Linked DNA regions of Homo sapiens: all the other regions are linked to region 1. Evidence: promoter capture Hi-C in 16 types of primary human blood cells and fetal thymus (Javierre and others, 2016). All regions are on one chromosome and are shown on one strand. Each heading gives the region's core, a stretch centred on a gene start or on the middle of the fragment in contact. The rest is flanking DNA. Distances are from core to core; before and after follow the strand shown.

What was found. The method cuts DNA at HindIII sites, captures the fragments that hold promoters and counts their contacts. A CHiCAGO score of 5 or more calls a contact.
Region 2: a fragment that was not itself captured here is called in contact with the fragment with the promoter of TRAM2 in region 1 in 1 of 17 cell types (total CD8 T cells); the score reaches 5.9 in total CD8 T cells.
Region 3: a fragment that was not itself captured here is called in contact with the fragment with the promoter of TRAM2 in region 1 in 1 of 17 cell types (total B cells); the score reaches 5.3 in total B cells.
Region 4: a contact is called between a fragment that was not itself captured here and the fragment with the promoter of TRAM2 in region 1, in 1 of 17 cell types (total CD8 T cells). The highest score is 5.7, in total CD8 T cells.
Region 5: a fragment that was not itself captured here is called in contact with the fragment with the promoter of TRAM2 in region 1 in 5 of 17 cell types (non-activated CD4 T cells, total CD8 T cells, naive CD8 T cells and 2 more); the score reaches 8.1 in non-activated CD4 T cells.
Region 6: a contact is called between a fragment that was not itself captured here and the fragment with the promoter of TRAM2 in region 1, in 2 of 17 cell types (non-activated CD4 T cells and monocytes). The highest score is 5.9, in non-activated CD4 T cells.

Annotation. Positions count from the first base shown.
Region 1 is chr6:52,575,220-52,578,309 of GRCh38, forward strand. TRAM2 (translocation associated membrane protein 2) reads right to left here and starts at 1,841. Exons shown (of 11, transcript NM_012288.4): 1 at 1,577-1,841. The coding sequence starts at 1,696. It overlaps TRAM2-AS1 (TRAM2 antisense RNA 1), which reads left to right and starts at 1,983. Exons shown (of 3, transcript NR_103446.1): 1 at 1,983-3,090. RefSeq lists a silencer at 1,554-2,413. The HindIII fragment of the contact is 3,868 bases long and covers 645-3,090 here.
Region 2 is chr6:53,080,361-53,083,450 of GRCh38, forward strand. It overlaps FBXO9 (F-box protein 9), which reads left to right. Exons shown (of 13, transcript NM_033480.3): 6 at 608-738; 7 at 2,144-2,258. Among named protein-coding and RNA genes, the nearest start is that of FBXO9, 17 kb to the left of the region's middle. The HindIII fragment of the contact is 1,868 bases long and covers 497-2,364 here.
Region 3 is chr6:53,052,563-53,055,652 of GRCh38, forward strand. All of the region lies in intron 1 of CILK1 (ciliogenesis associated kinase 1), which reads right to left. Among named protein-coding and RNA genes, the nearest start is that of CILK1, 7.7 kb to the right of the region's middle. The HindIII fragment of the contact is 1,175 bases long and covers 1,064-2,238 here.
Region 4 is chr6:52,982,129-52,985,218 of GRCh38, forward strand. It overlaps GSTA4 (glutathione S-transferase alpha 4), which reads right to left. Exons shown (of 7, transcript NM_001512.4): 5 at 2,336-2,477; 6 at 446-577. Among named protein-coding and RNA genes, the nearest start is that of GSTA4, 12 kb to the right of the region's middle. The HindIII fragment of the contact is 608 bases long and covers 1,130-1,737 here.
Region 5 is chr6:52,260,975-52,264,064 of GRCh38, forward strand. MCM3 (minichromosome maintenance complex component 3) reads right to left here. Exons shown (of 17, transcript NM_002388.6): 17 at 3,041-3,090. Among named protein-coding and RNA genes, the nearest start is that of IL17F, 18 kb to the left of the region's middle. The HindIII fragment of the contact is 1,150 bases long and covers 1,108-2,257 here.
Region 6 is chr6:52,310,463-52,313,552 of GRCh38, forward strand. No RefSeq gene overlaps it. Among named protein-coding and RNA genes, the nearest start is that of MCM3, 27 kb to the left of the region's middle. The HindIII fragment of the contact is 1,829 bases long and covers 743-2,571 here.

The DNA.
Region 1 (3,090 bases), core at 591-3,090:
ACCAGTTTTATGAACGTCTTTAATGATGGGGAAACTGAGGCTGCAGTCAGTTTTCAGTCAGACTAGTCACAGAACAGGGACTGAGACACACGGATATGACTCTGTGTGACACCACACACTTCCAGGGGAGAACCCAGAACAAGGTGGAGCAAGCCCGACCCAATATACCACTAGAGAGAGCTGTGAGAGGGAGAGGAAGGAGAGAGGGACTGAACTAAAGGAGCACTATCAAAAAGTGGAGTGGAGACCCCAGTCCTAGCACCACCGTTTATTTCCTACAGACCCTAAAGCTCAGCCACGGACACATTCATTCATCCAACCCTGACTTGGCCACCACAAGAACGTTCCCAGCTTGAGGGCAGCTTCGCCAGCCAATTAGGGCCCTTGTCATTCGTAGAGATACAGGGAACCCGAGACAGAGGGACAGGGAAGGAAATTTAGCCAGGCAAGCCATCCTCCATCTCCAAGGAAGTTTGTAAATGATCACAGCTTCCTAACCCAACCGTGAGAATGCAATAAGCAAGCTGACGCAGAAGGGAGGACAAGGAGTCTCAGGAACCAGAGGAGACCACGGTGAGAGTGAGGGGAATGTCGCTCACATATCTCACTTCTGAGACAAGATATACCGCAACAAACCCATGCCAAGCTTCCTCCAGTTCTTCCCACTTTTGAATATCACATTTTTCTTGCTCTGCAAGAGTAGGGAATCCTTCCCATCAGTCTTGTGAATTCTGACCCCTTGCTGGCTTTCTACAACTCCCTGCCTGGGAGGCCGACACCAGGACATTGCTGTTGGGGGTGGGATCCCCATCCTCTGCCCCCCACTCCTACACTATAAGAGAATCAACTTTCCCCAAAAAGTGGAGGGTATCCCTGTCTCTCTTCTTGTCTCTGTAAAGGGGGTGAAGCTCTGGGTCGCCGCAGATGGATCTAAAGGGACAGTTCACGGAGTGGTAAAGGATATCCAAAAATTGGCCTTCTAGAGCACAGCAAAAAAGTGGGAGCGAGACGAGAGCAGAAGGCCACTGCTGGGATGGGGCCAGGGCCACACGTGAACATCCGAGCACGTTCCAGAGCTGAGATGCAAAACACCCAGAAAATCACATAGGAAGTGGAAAAGGTTCTGGGTCTCTCCCACTGGAAAAGCCCAGAAGAGCTAGTGGCCACCCCTTGGGGCAAGAGGGGGTTGTGCAATGACTGCGGGTCTGGGAGTCTCTGGGCTTGGCTCCTGGACGCCAGAAAGGGAACCCCACGCGTCAAGCCATGGTGGCAGCGCGGCGGTTGGTTCGAGGCCAGGCTGGGGTTTCAGGGCTGCAGACAGAGCTGCAGGATACGATGAGTGCCCAAGGGGGCGGCAGAGCATGGCATGGCTGGCACGGCGCGGAGCTGGGGGTGCTGTCTGGGCTGGCCGGGGTACAGGCCGGAGGGGTACAGTGCACAAAGCCGGGGTGCAGATAACGTACACGGCAGCCAGGAGCCTCCGATCAGAGGAGGGCCCGCTGACCTGCAGGGGTGTGCCGGGCGGTGCACGACAGGGGGCACTGTCCCTCCAGCTCCCTCCTCCCCAGGCTCTCACCTCGAACATAAGCCCGATGAGGACGCAGAGCACCAGGCAGAAGCCGATGTCCGCATGGTTGTGGATGACGAACTCCTGGCTGAAGAGCGGGTAACTTTTCGTCCTCCTGCGGAAAGCCATGGCAGCGGGCGCGCAGCGGCCGGCGGGGCCCGCACCCTGCGCTCACGAACCGCAGCGCAAACTTCTCCAGCACCGGCCCGGTCCGCCCGCCGGCCCGCCGCCCGCTCTCCCACAGCCGCTCGCCCGCCCAGCGCGGAACAACTTCGGGGCCCGCCCCCTTCCTCCGCCCGCCCCCGGCCGCCCGTAACCGCCCCCGGCCGCAGCCCCCGCCCAGCCCCCGCCCAGCCCGCGGCCCGCACTCGGCGCGCCTGGCCCCGCCCCCCGCGGGCTTAACCCTCTAGCCGCTGGGCACGCGCGGGCTACCGGGGCGGAGGCGTACGGGGGCGGCGAGCGGGGCTCGGCTCCTCCTCGTCCCGCGCCAGCGCCGCGCCCGGCCGCATTCTCGGGGCCCGAGGCTCAGCCGCTCGCGGTGGAGAAAGCAGGCCGCGGAGGAGGCGGGCGCCCAGGCCTGCCCGGACAGGAAGTGGGCCCAGCTTTCCCACTCCTCGCTCCGCTCCTTCCTCCGCGGGAAGGGCAGGCCCCGGAGGCAGCGAGCGCCCCGGGGGTGGCCGGGCAGCCGGATGCTCCCGGGGTTGCGGGCTGTGGCCCCGGGGGCTGAGGGCGGCGCGGGTGCGGCGGAAGCAGGGAAGCCGCGAACCGGCCTTCTGGCTGGCCACAGCGCCCTGCACGGACGATCAGTGAATGGAGATTACTCAAGTATTTATCGAGAACTTGCAGTGGGCTAGGCACAGTTCAGGTAGATCAACAAACCGAAAGACCCTGCCCTAGGGGAGCTTTCGCTCCAATGCGGGGAGAGGGTGGATGATTGCAGTTTTGCCCAGTAATTTTTGGGACCCTCATGCCACCATTAATTAGCTACACACATTTCACCGAAAGTCTACCTTACATATTAATCAGAAGAAGTGGAAGAATAAACACAGAAGAAGCAAAAAAGGAAGGAACTTTCTCACTGAAAGTTTCTATTTAATATTAAGTCTTAAAAGTACTCCTGGAAGGACAAAAGGTGTTCTTAATAAATTATATTCGCAAATATTGGATTTAATCCTACCAGTAATGAAGCAGTCAGTTACTTTCTAGATGTGCAGAAATACGTAATGAACAAAAAAAACTAATTCCTATTCCATTTTTTATTAGGTCCACAGTTATTTCACTTCTAAATAAATATGGTTTTTTAAAAGTGGCACGCGGTGGAATGTAATTGAGACAGGATGGAGTTCCTAGAGAAATTTTACTTCCTCAATCTGCACTCCACCTTACTTAAAATACAGTCTTGGGTCTGTAATTCCCTTATCTGACTCTCAAGGAAATGACAAAGTAATGCCTAGATTGGACTAAACCTCATTTAACTTCAAGGCTGACCTTTCTCAAAGTTGAACCTTCGTCTTGTGAGGAAC
Region 2 (3,090 bases), core at 181-2,680, 500 kb after region 1:
CTTCGCCTTCATCCAATCCTCTTTGTAAGTCTGATCATCTTTAAGGTTTACTTCAGTAAAAATAGAAAGCTCATTTTTCTAGCACCATTCACTACACATTTGTGTATACTGGTAGATGATTTGTGAACCCTAAGATGTTTTCAAAGTAGGTATTTTCCTCTCTAAAGGTAGGCTGATAAGGCAAATCTGTTAGAAAACCCTTGGTAAGTAAGTACCTCAGATGACGTCTGTAGATTTGGTTTTTATCCAGTTAGAATAAATTAAGGTTAAAGAACATACTACGTTAAGATTTTTGAAACCATTTGAAAGCTTGCAGTAACTCATAAAATCTCTACTTTACAATAAAATTAGTTAAATCTCAACACCTGTATCCAAAAATTCTAATTCTTTCTGGATGATAATTACTGAAGCTTTTTTCTTTGAAAAACTTGATACAGTATTCCTTTGCAAGACAGGATAAATTCATCACATTTAAAAATGTATCACATGTTGAATAAGCTTTAGGTGACTTTTTGTAAAGCAAATTTGAAAATGCTATGAAAAATCAGTTTCTAAACTGTACGCTTGTAGACTGAGGCACTTAATTTATTCACCTCCCTTTTTTCAGCATTGAAGATAATGATGATGACAGCAAAATGGCAGATCTCTTGTCCTACTTCCAGCAGCAACTCACATTTCAGGAGTCTGTGCTTAAACTGTGTCAGCCTGAGCTTGAGAGCAGTCAGATTCACATATCAGGTGTGAATACTTGTTTTTCATAACTCAGTGAGAAATATCTTAACCTTAAAGATTTCCAAATTTATAAGGTCAGATAATTTGCCAGATAACTGCTGCTTTAGTTCAGAATATGGTGGAAGATCTAGTTATAATTATCATTTGCATATACTATTAAGCTGTTTTGTGTTTTGTTTTGTCTTGTTTTGTTTTTTGAAATGGAGACGTGCCCTGTCACCCAGGCTGGAGTGCAGTGGTGCAATCTCGGCTCACTGCAACCTCTGCCTCCTGGGTTCAAGCAATTCTGCTGCCTCAGCCTCCCAAGTGGCTGGGATTACAGGCGTGTGCCACCACACCCAGCTAAATTTTTGTATCTTCAGTAAAGACAGAGTTTCACCATGTTGGCCAGGCTGGTCTCGAACTCCTGACTTCATGATCTGCCCACCTTGGCCTCCCAAAGTGCTGGGATTACAGGCCTCTGAGGCACTGCGCCCAGCCCAGTAGTAAGCTGCTTTACAATCTGAAGCAGAACAGTTTGTAGTGCTGTTGTTTAAGGATGCCATACCTTTTTCAGTAAAGATCTAACAGGGTAAGTCTGAGTTGTTGAGGTAGCCCTAAGAAAACTGGAGGAATACTGGTATCATGAAGCATTTCAGCCATGTTGGACAATTGTCCTGAGACAGACTGAATGTTTAGGAATTAATGGATTTTTGTTCGGGCATGGTGGCTCACGCCTGCAATCTCAGCATTTTGGGAGGCTGAGTTGGGAGGATCACTTGAGGCCAGGAGTTCAAGATAAGCCTGGCCAACATGGTGAAACCCCACCTCTACTAAAAATACAAAAATTAGCTGGGCGTCGTGGCGCATGACTGTAGTCCCACCTACTTGGGAGGCTGAGGCACGAGAATTACTTGAACCCAGGAGGCAGAGGCTGCAGTGAGCTGAGATTGTATCACTGCACTCCAGCCTGGGCAACAGAGCAAGAACCTGTCACAAAAAAAAAAGAAATTCATGTATTTTTAATATGTTAAATATTGTTTGGTTCGGGGCTTTTTCAGAGGAGGACAATTAAAAGTTTTCAAGGAGATGAAAATAACTTTAGTGTTAATAGATGCAATATGGATCACACACACATAGATTATTTTCCTAAAACATTTATTTTAATATGTCTGGCAAAATAATCTTATGAGGGAAAAGAGTGCTTTATAAAAAGTAGCTTCAGATCTATACTGAAAAAACAAAGATATTTATGTCTTGATGTTAAGAACCATTATTATTATTGAGTAGCTAAATACATTCATGCTTTAGCTCTGAGCAATACAGAGGGTGTGATTATAAATTTCTAGGAAGGTATAAATGTACTGGGAATGTAGTTGTGACAATAGAATGACATAGAGGAGAGTCACTGAAGGATGATTTTCTTTTGCAGTGCTGCCAATGGAGGTCCTGATGTACATCTTCCGATGGGTGGTGTCTAGTGACTTGGACCTCAGATCATTGGAGCAGTTGTCGCTGGTGTGCAGAGGATTCTACATCTGTGCCAGGTACTAAGTTTTTGTTTTTGTTTTTTAAACAACTGAGGCAATGGTGAAAAGAAAGATGGTCCTTTGCCAATCCTGATAAAATTACTTGATTGGTGTTCTGAGTTAAAGCTTAGAATAAACAAGTTTTGCTAAGCTGTACTTAACTTTCTCAAATAACTTAGAATTTAAAGGCTAGAATATGCTAGGTTTCTAGGGTATAGAATAATATGTAGGACAGATGTAGTAACCCATACTACTACCATAGAGTTTACATGCTAGCTTAACTGATTTGGGAAAAAGAGTTATATTAGAAAAATATATTCAAGTCATTTTTACACTAACTGTAAACTCATTGTGGTAATGGTTTAGATTAAAACAGCACTAGCATTTTCTTATGGCTCATTAAAAGTTATTCTATATTTTGAAAATTTTGCTATGTGTGGGAAAGGACTCTATTCAATAAATGGTGCTGAGATAAGCGGCTAGCCATGTGCAGAAGATGGAAACTGGATCCTTTCCTTACACGACACACAAAAATCAAATCAAGATGGATTAAAGACTTAAATGTAAAACCTAAAACTATATACTTAGTCCTTATATAGAATTTTTAAAAACAACTTGTTCTTAAAATTCAGATGCATTATTTTTAAATTAATTCCATTTGGAATCTTGTAGTTTTCATAAAATATTTGAATTTCTTGAAGACTCTTTTTCACAATTCTGTGTGCTAGTATATTTAACAAGTACCTATTAAACACCTAGTGGATTGCCACTAGAGTCTCTAGCACTGTTATGTCAACCTAAATAATAAGCAGATAGACTCTCTAAAAGACATTTATTTGAGAATAATACA
Region 3 (3,090 bases), core at 401-2,900, 480 kb after region 1:
TCTACTAAAAATACAAAAATTAACCAGGCGTGGTGGTGTATGCCTGTAATCCCAGTTACTCAGAAGGCTGAGGCAGGAGAATTGCTTGAACCCAGGAGGCGGAGGTTGCAGTGAGCAGAGATCGCACCACTGTACTCCACCCTGGGACAGAGTGAGATTCTGTCTCAAAAAAAAAAAAATCAATAAATAAAAAATAGGGAATTTCCTATATAAATCCCTATTTGGAGCTTCTCTGGAAACACTGAAGGTCTAACCACCTGGGGTCCTTAGCCCTTCACGGTAATAAGAAGTGGAAGAAATGTCCGTACCTCTTCAGGCTGGGCGTGTGCTCTGCAGCTCACCACAGTCCCCATTTTTTGCCTGTTGCCACTTGCCATTTTTTTTTTTTAGCTGTCATTTTTTTGTGTGCCTTCATAGCCACTTGTTTTACTGGATGAAAAATATTTCTCTGTTCCTATGCCTATAACAAAAGTGACAAAGTAAAAGCCTGAAAAAAAAAAAAACCTTATACTTAAAGAAAAATTGGAAGAGAAGAAAAATTGTTCTTTTTTAGAAGAGAAGAGCAATTTCTTACTGTTTGACAAGCACACACCCAGCTTCCTTGAGTCTTTTATTTTCCTCCTCTGCCCTGACAGCATTTAAATTCAGCTTCTGGTACAGATAGTTAACACTGCTTGAGAAGTGAATGGAATGTAGCAGCCTGTCCATTACCTTGAGAATTAGCATGTATTTCTAACTCGCAGTATTTCTAAATTCTGCTTTGACTCCAAGAATTAACTTGGATAAATCATTCACTACAACGAATCTACACTTAGCACCCTCATATATCAAATATGCCCAAAACATGATAATTTTAGTACTTAGTATGTGCATAGTACTATTATAAGTGCTTATGCATATATTAGTACATTTAACCCTCATAATTCTACCAGGCAGGTACTATTACAATTATCCCTATTTTACAGAGAAGGAAACTGAGACACAAGTTACATGTCTAGATTATACGACTAATGTGGCAGAAATGAGACAGGAACCCAGGCTGACTGTACCAAACTTAAGGGAAAGCTTTCAAAAGATCATGAAATCTTTGGAGGATCTGAAAATGACAGGAACAGAAGTAGTACTTTGTATCTCAAAGCCCAAATATGAAAATGAATGATATGGCTATGTTCTAATTGTCTTCATTCTGCAATCAAATATCAGCGAATCCTCTGGAGCCATTGGCAGCACCAACATGCCCACAGTGGAGGCAAAGTGAGGGACTGGTTCCAGTTTCCACTCAGCACTGATCTGCTGTGCCTCGGGGCATCTCTTGGTCCTTGAGTTTACTTTTGGTGGAATTAGGGCATGGGACTTGCTCTAAGGTGGTTTCTTCCTCTAAAGCTGTGTGATTCTGTGACTCTGTATCAGGAATTGAGCTAGCATTTGTCTAAGAAAAAAAAAAGGATAAATGTTTCTGCTTTTTGCATCACATGAACAAAGGTTAGCGGAGAAGACAGTGCCACCGAAGGACCCTGTATGCTACACACCTTTCTTTCAAGAGATGCACAAGTGCCCCAGTGCCTCAGCCAGGCCCCAGTAAACATTAAACATCGATTCCTTCTCTTTCGAGCTCACATGTCACCTCTTCCAAGCCTCCTGCCCCAACCTACACATATAGACCCGAGAATGGTCCTCTCCCTTGATGCCATAGTGCCTTGTCCTCACCTCACTGCCAGCCCCTTCCCCGTGGCAATGACCTGCAGGTGTACCCTCTGCTTCAGCCTCGACACTCTCCAAGACTGCTTCATCTTTGTCTTCTCACTCCACTTGCAGTAGCAAGTCCTCAAAGATTGTTTGAAGGGCCCAAATGTGAGTTTTAGTCTTTGCTATTATTTTCTGTACCACCTTGGCTAAGTACCTCAAAATTCTCAGTGCTTCTATTTTGTCATACACAAAACAAAGATAAACTGTTGGGCCCAACTAAAAGTTCTGAAGTTCTGAAGTGGAAGAACAGTGAATACCACAGAATAGCTGGGGCAGGCAGGCAGCCTGGGCCCTCCCACAACAATGCCAAGATGACTGAGTCTCAGAGGATCACAGAAAGTCCCCCTCCATGCGGTCAGATCAGGCCTTTGGCCTTTGGGTAAGGCTGTACTCAACTACCAAAGAAAGACAGCTTTATCTCTCTTTCAAAGAGTTCCAGCAAACCTTTGAAGTCAATGTTATGATGTTCCTGGCTAGGTGACATTGGGGAAAAGCTTCCTGTGATTTGCCCCAATTCCCTCCCCTCAGCGTCAATCCTCGGTGGAGGCAAAGAACATTTGCTCATGGCCAGCAGCTCACATCAGGTGCCTTGCTCATTCACAGCCTAAAAAATGGAGGCGAGGGGCAGGGAAAATTGTAGTTCATTCTTTATTTTGAAACCTTAATCAATGAATTAATGCCATCATTACACATTTTCTAAGACAGGAGACAAAAAGTTACAGCAAACTTGGGGTTCTCTGGGAGTTGTGGTTTACCAGGCCCACTGACACCATTCAGTTCCTTAGAAGGAGCTTGTCTCCCTTTGCATTAATTATCTTACATTGAAAAGATTCTGTTACTTTCATTTATCCTCCTAGGAAAAGTGGATTATATGCAAAATCATTAGATGACCCTTCTCATGGTAATTCTGAGTTCCATTTTACCTTTACAGGTTTATAATTAGACTTCGTATTCTAGGTTTGAATGTGTCCTAACTTTACAAAAGTCAGTGAATACTGTTAATTTCTTTTAAAAAGGTACTAGAAATAGTATATCCGGGTTTATGTTTTTCTCCTGGACCTAATTCTTCTGCCTCTGTACATTTTAGCAAGCAAACCTTTTAAGCATTTTGCCTCTTGGACTACTGCTTTTTTTCTGCATAAGGAATAGCAGTTACAAAGCCAAAAGGACCTTCTTTACATGGATCTTGCTTTGTCTTTACCTTGACAGAGGAGTGAATTAAAGATGCATTCAGCTATTGCATCAACTGGATGTTAACAAGAGAAGATAATCCGTTACATGATGTGCCTTCTTCTGTGCCCCAGAAACTTCTTCATACCTTTACCATCCCTCTCCTCTTTCAAT
Region 4 (3,090 bases), core at 184-2,683, 410 kb after region 1:
CTCATCTCTATGGTTATTTCTATGGAAAGTCCCCTGAGGCAAACTCCCTGTGCATGGAGTTTTTTCCAGGAGTGCAGTTATGGAACAAAATTAAGATGAAAATTTCTGAGCTGGGTGTGCTGGCACATGCCTATAGTCCCTGCTACTCAGGAGACTGAGGTGGGAGGATCTCTTGAGCCCAGGAGTTCAAGACCATTCTGGGCAACATAGTAAGATCCCACCTTAAAAAAAAAAAATTTTACACTTCAATGATCTTTCAACTTGAAGGATTTAAGGACCAGAAAAATAACTTTGGGTCCTTACTTTCATTTCATTTGCCAAACTAGAATCTTAAAAATATTACACATACACACACACACACACTCCCCAAAGCCAACCAAACAATAGACACTGAAGGAAGGCCCAAGAGTTCTAGGCCAATCTTCTAATACATAGTTTTATTTACCTGGAGGAAAGGAAATGCAGACAGGATATTAGGAATTTTCTCTTCTAGAGCTAAAATGGTTTGGAGTAAAATCACATCTGCAAGGCTCAGCTGATTACCAACAAGAAAGCTTTGTCCGTGACCCCTTAAAATCTGTAGGGAAATGGTGTGCATCAGTTACAATATTCCACATGGAGAGAGTGATGAGGCTATTGAATCAGTGCAGTATCTGAGAAGAGGTGAAACTATGACCTTGTCATTTCATGCTTTCATAAATAACATCAATTAAGAGAACGCACCCTATATCTGACAGAGAGAGTGAGAGAGAGGGGGAGAGAGAGAGAGAGAGAGCGAGAGAGAGAGAGAGAAAGTACAAAAAAGGTGTGGAAATGAAAGCATCCTTAAATATCTGCTGTGGATCTGAATGAGACATTGAAGTGGGGAAGGGAAAATTCCTTATTTCTGGATTTAGCATCTGGTGTTTTGAAAGGATATATCTACTCCAAAAATGTATCTACAGAAATGCATGCAGGAGGCTTGGGGAGGGGCAGGGTGATTTAAGAAATCTAAGTGATAGATCATCTTCAAGGGGCCCACTCTTATTTCCCAGTTCTGCTGCTAGAACATCAAGAGGTGTAGTCATAAACTCAACCCAATTATAAAATTAGACTTCCTCTTACATGTCCCAAAACAGAGAAAATGAAAAGCTTGAGTTCATCTTGACTCCCATTCTGAGGGTAACGTATAGGTGTGGGGCTTATAAGAATAGATTGTGATTAGGGAGAGGCAAGAAGCAGTAGTAGCAAAGGGGAGATCCCCTTCACAGTCAACTCTTGGATGCCCATGGGTGTCTGCATGTGCACAAGTGTGTGTGTCACAGGGACTCCGAACACAATTCCAGGTCAAATATAGCTACTGGAGCCAGAGTGGCATAGTACAATGCATCCTGAATTTGTAGTCAGAGGCCAGAGTTCCAACCCTGCTCTCCATTTTCTGGCCATGTTACCTTGGACAGGTCACTGAATCTCTTCATGACTTCATTTCATTATGTGTAAAAGGGACAACGGTTCTCACCTCATAGGCGTGTTGCAAGAAACCCTGACACAGTCTGGGCCCTTGGGACCTAAGAATGAGCAGTGAACCTTTGCCAAAGCACCAGGTCCTCTGTGCCCGTTCCAGACCACATTTCTTCATTATCCTATTTTACATTCACAAAGTGCCTGTGGGAAAGATACCATAAAACCTAGCTACAGAAACCCCAGAAAATACCTCTCCTTTTTCCTAAATCTAGTTCCATAAAGATGGTCAGAGGAAGCTTGCCAAATAGGTCTTCCCATATTTTCACACCCTCTTCTTTAGTGTTTGCATTGAAACACTAAAAAAGTTCCTCCCAGTTCAGGAATAAAGAATTTGAAGCTCAGAAAAGCAGATATAACAAGAAGAGAAAAACAACAAAACCAAAAACAAAAAGAGCAAAGGGAAGATAAATAAAATGGAAATGGTTCTTCTACTCATATCGAATTATCAGGGAGGATGTCAGCTGAGACAGCTGTTCGACAACTTTTGTTGAATGAATGAATGAGGTAGTTTTTGTTTTCTGTATCTTCTGAAGTTTCTGCTGTATCCACACAAGGTGGGAACTTGGTGAATGCAAGGAACAATAAGGAACAAAGGCAGGGAGCCCATACTTTTTCTAGACTTCTGAATCATGTGGTCCTAGCAGAGTCCAAGGGGCTCTAAGACACCAGCTTTGTGCTGTGGCTACTATTCGCTCTTAGGAGTCCATTAGCGCTTAGGTTAGTTCAACTGGGCTCAGTTTTAAAATCCTTGGACAGAAAAGGGTGTTTGTGGCAGCTTCTTTGTGGTTTGTGGTTTGGTTGCTCTGTGTATGTAGGCATCTCTGCCACCTACCTTTTCAAACACAGGAAAGTATCTAATTATAGCCTTCTGGGCCATGTTAACCACTTCCTTTTGCTGATCATCTGGTTTTAAGAAAGGATGCATGATAAGCAGTTCCAGCAGATCCAGTGTCCCCTCCACGTACATGTCAATCCTTAAAACAAAAAAGCAGTTGTCTCAGTTTCTCCTCTCTTTGAAGCCATCAGTTTCCACAACTAAGAATTCAGAGTGCTTTTTTTTTTTTTTTTAAAGATGCTGCAACTTAAGTCCCTAGAAGCATTTACCTATACCTGTCTCTTAAGAGCAAAGATATAAGGTCAATTCTAGTTGTAACTCAGAAAAATCTGTCACAGATCAGACAGCTTGACAGTCATGAGTGCTCTCTCTCCTGGCATCCTACTCCTCCACTTTTACCCCAGCATCCATGTTTTGGTCTCTTCGTATGGGTCAAACTTCAACTTTATAAAAATAGTGAATACCACTTATTGAGTGCTTAGAGTGTACCAGGCATGGTGCTAAACACTCTCTATCCATTATCTCATTAAATCACATGACACTATGAGAAATGTACTATTCTTATACCCACGTTGCCCAGGGTCATACATCTAAGGGGTGCAAGGACCAGGCTTTGATTTCAAATTATAATCTAATGCTCACTCTCCCAGGCCTTGAATGTCACAGCAGCTCCTCATTCCTAATACTTAACAATAGTGAATGTGCAAGAAAGGGAAAAAGCAGTATCAAAGCATTTAAAAATGTTGAAATCT
Region 5 (3,090 bases), core at 433-2,932, 310 kb before region 1:
GATGGCAAGGAAGGGAAAGAGCTTGCACAGAGCTTGTTAGGGCTGAGCACCTGAGGCAGCCAGCACACAGGTGACTCTTGTGCTTGCCATATTCTACTGACCAAACCCTCCAGGCAGAGCTCACTTCACAAGCTCAGAATCATTAGGACAACTGGTGTAGTCTGAAATCTCCTCAGGAGACATGAGAAAGAGAGGGCTGGCAGATTCACTCGTTTCTGTGAACCTTTCTCCTCTTTATCCCCCTTGATGTTTTCCTACCACCCGGCCCTGTTGTGAGGTAACACTGTCCTCAGGAGAAAGCTGAAAAATGCATTGCCGAGCTAGCGCCGAGAGGGTCCTCTCTGGGGGAAGTGCTTGCCTCAGAGCCACACTGACCGGAATGTGGGAACCATCAGAGAGTGGAAAGGCAGGGAAGAGATGAGAGTTCAGGAATGCAGCCAGGGTGAAATCATTGTAAATGGTTTTGATTAAAGGATCATGTTTCATAAACATTTGTCAAAATGAATCACTTTGTTTTAATGGGCCCTCGAACTTGCAGTAATCAAAACCACTGCCATGAAGTAGTAATACACCAGGTGGGAACCTGCCATCTGCTTTCCCAATTATGTTTCACAAGCATCCTACAAGGCAGGAATCATCCCCATTTTACAGCTGAAATAAAGAGTAGCATAAAACTTACCTGAAGTTATTCGGTAAATGGCGGAGAAGAGATTCAATTTCAACAATCCTTACCAAATTGTCCTTTTTGAAAACCACCCTTTCATTTTGCCACTTCATTTATCCAGGGGAGTTAAGGAATAAGGTGCCATTTTTCAAGATACAAAAACTTACTTCTCTAAGCTCCCCAAATTATTTTAACTACAGTATTTCAGACCACAAACCTAAATGTAAACAGACTTCTCTTTTGGAATGAGGCACGCAGATAATTTAGCAGTTTTCTCTGGTGAATCTGGGTCACCACTGCAATCTCTGCAGGGTGGCAACAGCGATACCCTCAGGGGTGACTGGACTTGAGACATGTCAGCCCACTTGAGCAGCCTCTTTCAGGTCCCCACAGTAGGTCCTGCAGTGGATCACCTGTCAACAAGCAAGAACCTATCCTGGAAAAGCTTACCAGCTCTTTTCTGTTCTTGTAAGCTGGGAACTACATAAACAAGTTTCTTAAAACTCAATGTAAAGGTTGAATCATGCTATTTTAATACAATTAGTATCTATTGTGGCTGCTATAGTCTTCTACCTACTATTCTTTTGACTAGCTTGAAGAGTGATGAAATGGTCAGCAAAGTCAACCTGATATTACAGCTATTATCACAATGGTAGGTGCACATATCCCCCCACTCTGTGCCTCAGTTTCCTCAGAGGTGAAGGACAGACTAAGAGTCCCATTGACAGAATGTTTGCCTTTCTAGAACAAATCACTTGAGGAGATCCCTAAGAACTCCTAGAACTGTTCTTCATAGCTGTACCCCATCAGTAGCACCTGACATCCTCATGGTCCTCCCTGGATTCCTATATCTCTGTGTGTGCCCTCATTTGGTATATAATCATACTTAATTTTTTTTTAATAAAGACAGGGTCTCGCCATGTTGCCCAGGCTGGCCTTAAACTCCTGGACTCAAGCAATCCGCCTGCCTCAGCCTCCCAAAGTGCTGAGATTACAGGCATGAGCCACCGTGCCCAGCTGTACACTTTATATTTTGAAATTTTCACCAACATATTGACATATCCCCAGCCTAGAAGCCTCAGAGCAGAAAGCGCCACTTTTGCACCCACTGCTATACCTAGCACAACTTCTGACTTATTGCCAATGCTCAACAAATGGCAAATTCTTCCTTCTGGTACCACTGCACTCTCTTTTGAAACTGTGCTCTCTAGACCACTTCCAGTAGGACTTAGATCTCGCTCGCATCAGTGAGGGGGAAAAAAAAATCCCAGATAAAACAGAATTCCCCAATAATTTTGTACTACTCCCTTTAAGAAAAAAATCCCTTTGTCCTAACGAACCAAAGAATATCTCCTGCTTTGTGGTAAAGGATCACCCCTCAGCAAAAATGGAAAAGAAAATACCTCAGCAATCTTACAGCCAAGAACTGGCACAACTTCAGAGCCACATCTGCCACCAGAAAGCAGCTTCCGGTCCATGTGACCGAGGCCCCCCATAAAGTCACATGATTCTTCTAAGTAACTTGAAAAATTCTTCAGAAGCTATTCAAACCATATAACGGTAGGACAGAAGTCCCGCCCTGGCCCCATCACAAGCTTCTGTGCAAACAGGCTAACCAACCCCAAAGAGTGGACACCCAGGTAGTTTCAAAAGCATCCTGTAGGCTGGGCACAGTGGCTCACACCTATAATCTCACAGTTTAGGAGGCCGAGATGGGAGAATCACTTGAGTCCAGGAGTTCAAGGCCAGCCTGGGCAACAGACAGACCTCATCTCTACTAAAAATTAAAAATAAAAACTTAGCGGGGCATGATGGCACGTGTCTGTGGTCTCAGCTACTAGGGAGGCTGAGGCAGGAGGATCACTTGAGCCCAGGAGGTCAAGGCTGTCATCAGCTGTGATTGTACCACTGCACTCTAGTCTGGGCACAAAGCGAGACCCTGTCTCAAAAAAAAAAAAAAAAAAAAAAAAAAAGATACTGTAACAAGATCTCATTATGGGCAAGAACTCCCAGGATTTTGAGGTGTCTGACGTATCGGGTATTCTATCTTTATGAAGGATAAGTTTAGATTCAGGCAAAAAGCGCCAGGCAGAGGGGCAATTCTTCTCCTGAACTTTTACTCACTAGCCTCCCGTGGCCATTTAGCTATTTTAAATTGGCAGGGTTTGGTCTATACTATCAATTTTGACTGATAAACGCTGGTGCTGCTGAAGAAGAAAACTGCCTCTAGAGAAGACATGACCCCCAGAGATCACAGCAGGCTGCTGCCACCTTGTGGTAGTTTGCTGCAAATGCGGGAGCAGCAAACCCTGCACGATTGCTCTCAAGGAAAACAATTCAATGTTATGTATAAAAAACACACTATGACTATTAAGACCATGTGTACGAAATGGCTAAGTTTATTCAACATCTCGGATATTCATCTG
Region 6 (3,090 bases), core at 407-2,906, 260 kb before region 1:
GAGTGCAATGGCACAATGATCTTGACTCACTGTAATTTCTGCCTCCCAGGTTCAAGCGATTCTCCTGCCTCAGCCTCCTGGGTAGCTGGGATTACAGGTGCATGCCACCACACTCAGCTAATTTTTCTATATTTAGTAGAGACGGGGTTTCATCATGTTGGCCAGGTTGGTCTCGATCTCCTGACCTTGTGATCTTCCCACCTCGGCCTCCCAAAGTGCTGGGATTACAGGCATAAGCCACTGTGTCTGGCCTCTGTACTATTTCTTATAAGCATGTGTAAATCTGTAATTACATCAAATTTTTAAAATGAATAACCAAAAAATTATATTTCTCATAGAAACAGTCTTATTATTTTTTATTAATTTTTTTACAAAATAGATTTTTCAACTGGTTCATGAAAATGAGCAAAATGTATTGTCTAAATAAAGCCATACCAATTTTTCACCTTATGAGAAATGGAAGTTAGGTTCATTTGGAATAATCTCTTCTCAATGAAAACTTGTTGGTGCCTAGCAATGACTTCCCTTTTTTTATGTTTATAGGATGCCCTTCAAGAACTTTGCCCAGGACTCTGGCATCTATGGTTTGCAGAATCAACCTTCTTCCCCTTTTCACAAAATGGAATAGTGTGTACCCAGCCACAGTCTTCTGGCGTCTCTCCCCGGCCCCACAGTCCCTGAAAAGCTGCCAACAGTCTTCTCATATATAAATTCTGTTGGTACCCCAGCCGGAATTTGTCCAAGCTTGGAGACATAAGCTCATTGAAAGCTAGGCATTCTCATACAATACCCCATTTATTTTGTGCCTCAATGTCTTCCTGCTGATATTTGTATGAAGAACATTCAACTTTAGAAAAGTTGGAACAGGGAAGCTGGTGTTTAGAGGTGGAAGCCAGTAAGTTCCGGGTGCAAATCCAGATTCTTTCATTCTCCAAAGGTCTGATCTTGGGCTAGGTTATCCAATTCTTTGAACTTCAGTTTGCTAATCTGTAAGATGGGAATAATAATCGCTATTATTATTACTATTAGGTTTCAGGTTGTAGTGAAGATTGAATAAGATAATATTTGTAAAAATGCAGAGCACGAATGGATAGTAACAACAAAGCAGGTGAGATGAACAGATCTGCTTCCTCATAGATATGGGGATTAATGGGATTTCAGAGTTGGAGAGCACTAGAGAAGTCACCCAGTCCTACCTCCTGCTCAGCGAGAGTGGTACTCATGAGCCAGCACATTTCAGCATGAACCAGCTTCTCCCTGTCACCTATCACCATCCCATTCGCTCCTCAACAACATGCCTGTACCTTCCATCCCCCATCAAAACCTTTAGAAGGCCTTTTCTCTGTGCCAGTACTTTAAACCCTTTATCTCATTAATCCTTACAACAACCCTGTGATACGTTTTTAATGTTCCTTTTACAGCTATGGAAACTGAGGCTCAGAGATATTAAGTAACTTATCGAAGGCTACACAGTTAATAAACAGGATTCAGCCCAGGTCTGTCTGTAACCAATGCTCCTACTCTTTTCTGCAATATTACATGGCCTTTAAAAAAAAAATTCTTATTTTTCTCAAACAGCTCATTCTTGGCTTTATCCATTTTGTCAGCTGTCCTGAAAGTCCCTCTTTTAGGTGTCCGTCTTTTAGGTGTATCCTTCTGCTATGCACTAAATAGTGTCCACTGAAAATTCATATGTTGCAATGAACTTTAATCCCCAATGTGATGGTCTATGGAGATGGGGCCTTTGGGAGGTACTTAGGATTAGATGAAGTCTGACAGCGGGACTGTCACACTGAAGTCAGTGCCCTCATAAGAAGAGGCACCAGAGAGCTCACTCCACCATAGCCCCAGCACACAAACAGGAGGTCATGTGAGTAAACAGTAATGGCAGCCTCCTACAAGCCAAGAGAAGAGGCCTCAGGATGAGACCTGCCTTGCCAGCACCTTGATCTTGGACTTCCCAGCCTACCGAACTGTAAGAAATAAATTTCTGTGCCTTAAGCCATCGAAAAGTCTATGGCATTTTGTTATGACAGCCTGAGCAGACTAAGCCACCTTCATTGCATCTACATTCTCTTTTCTCAATGCGGCATTTTTCAAATCTGAGCTGACTAATGAGTTTGCATTTCAGCTTGATGGGTCTCTCCAGCTCTCAATTTCCTGCCTTCCCCATTGTTCATTGTATCCTCAGTGTTCAGTTTTTGACAGTTCTCTTATTCTCTGGAGACATCCTCCTGTTTAGTGTCTCAGGCCATGTAATCAGATCTGTGATTTTTCCCTGAATGGTTTGACATTTGCCTTCATAACATCTGACAGTGTCCATTCTTGTGTACTCCAAACTTTGAAAAGATACAGGTCTGCTCAGTTCTGGGGCATAGTGAAAAAAAGAAAGAAGGCATGGATACTTTTACCTAGGCTTCTAGTCCTTCAAGTTGACCCCATTAGTTTCTGCTTGGAGAAACTTTGGGGTCCAAGTTATGCCCAGACTACAGTGTCCCCTTACTTCCTCTGCTTCCTAGGAGCTGCAGTTCTTGGCCAGGCAAATCAACAGGTTAACAGATATGACGCGTAAGCTTTCCTGCCCTTACTGATACCTCCTCTCCCCGAATTGCTCTAGCATTTGTTGTTTATTCCTTCCAGTTTAGCCCTTGATTGCTGGGCCTTGTATCCATTAGGCAAAGTGCTCAGGACCTACATTTCTTCTATTTTTAATTGGCTCTTATTGGCAAATCTGGAATCAGGCAACATCTCATTCTACAAAATAGAATGAGTATTCCTGGACCTACAGTTCTTTCTAGGTCCACAAAAATGTCTGAGACTTTCAGGGATGAGGGGAGAATGACATTAAAAAAAAAAGTTTGCAAAATCAAAATTAATATATGTATCTTTAAATGTCCATAAATTTAACATGATGAAAATTAATTAACTGCAACTCAATTCTACTCTAATTATGTGGTGATATACGTGGTGTTTGATGTAAAATGTGGGTTCAATATATTTTGTACTATGTGGGGGTAGCAGAGCCTCTGAGATTAGAAATGCCTGGGACCTACTGGAGTCTTAAAACTGCTCTGCTTGATTGTTTTACTC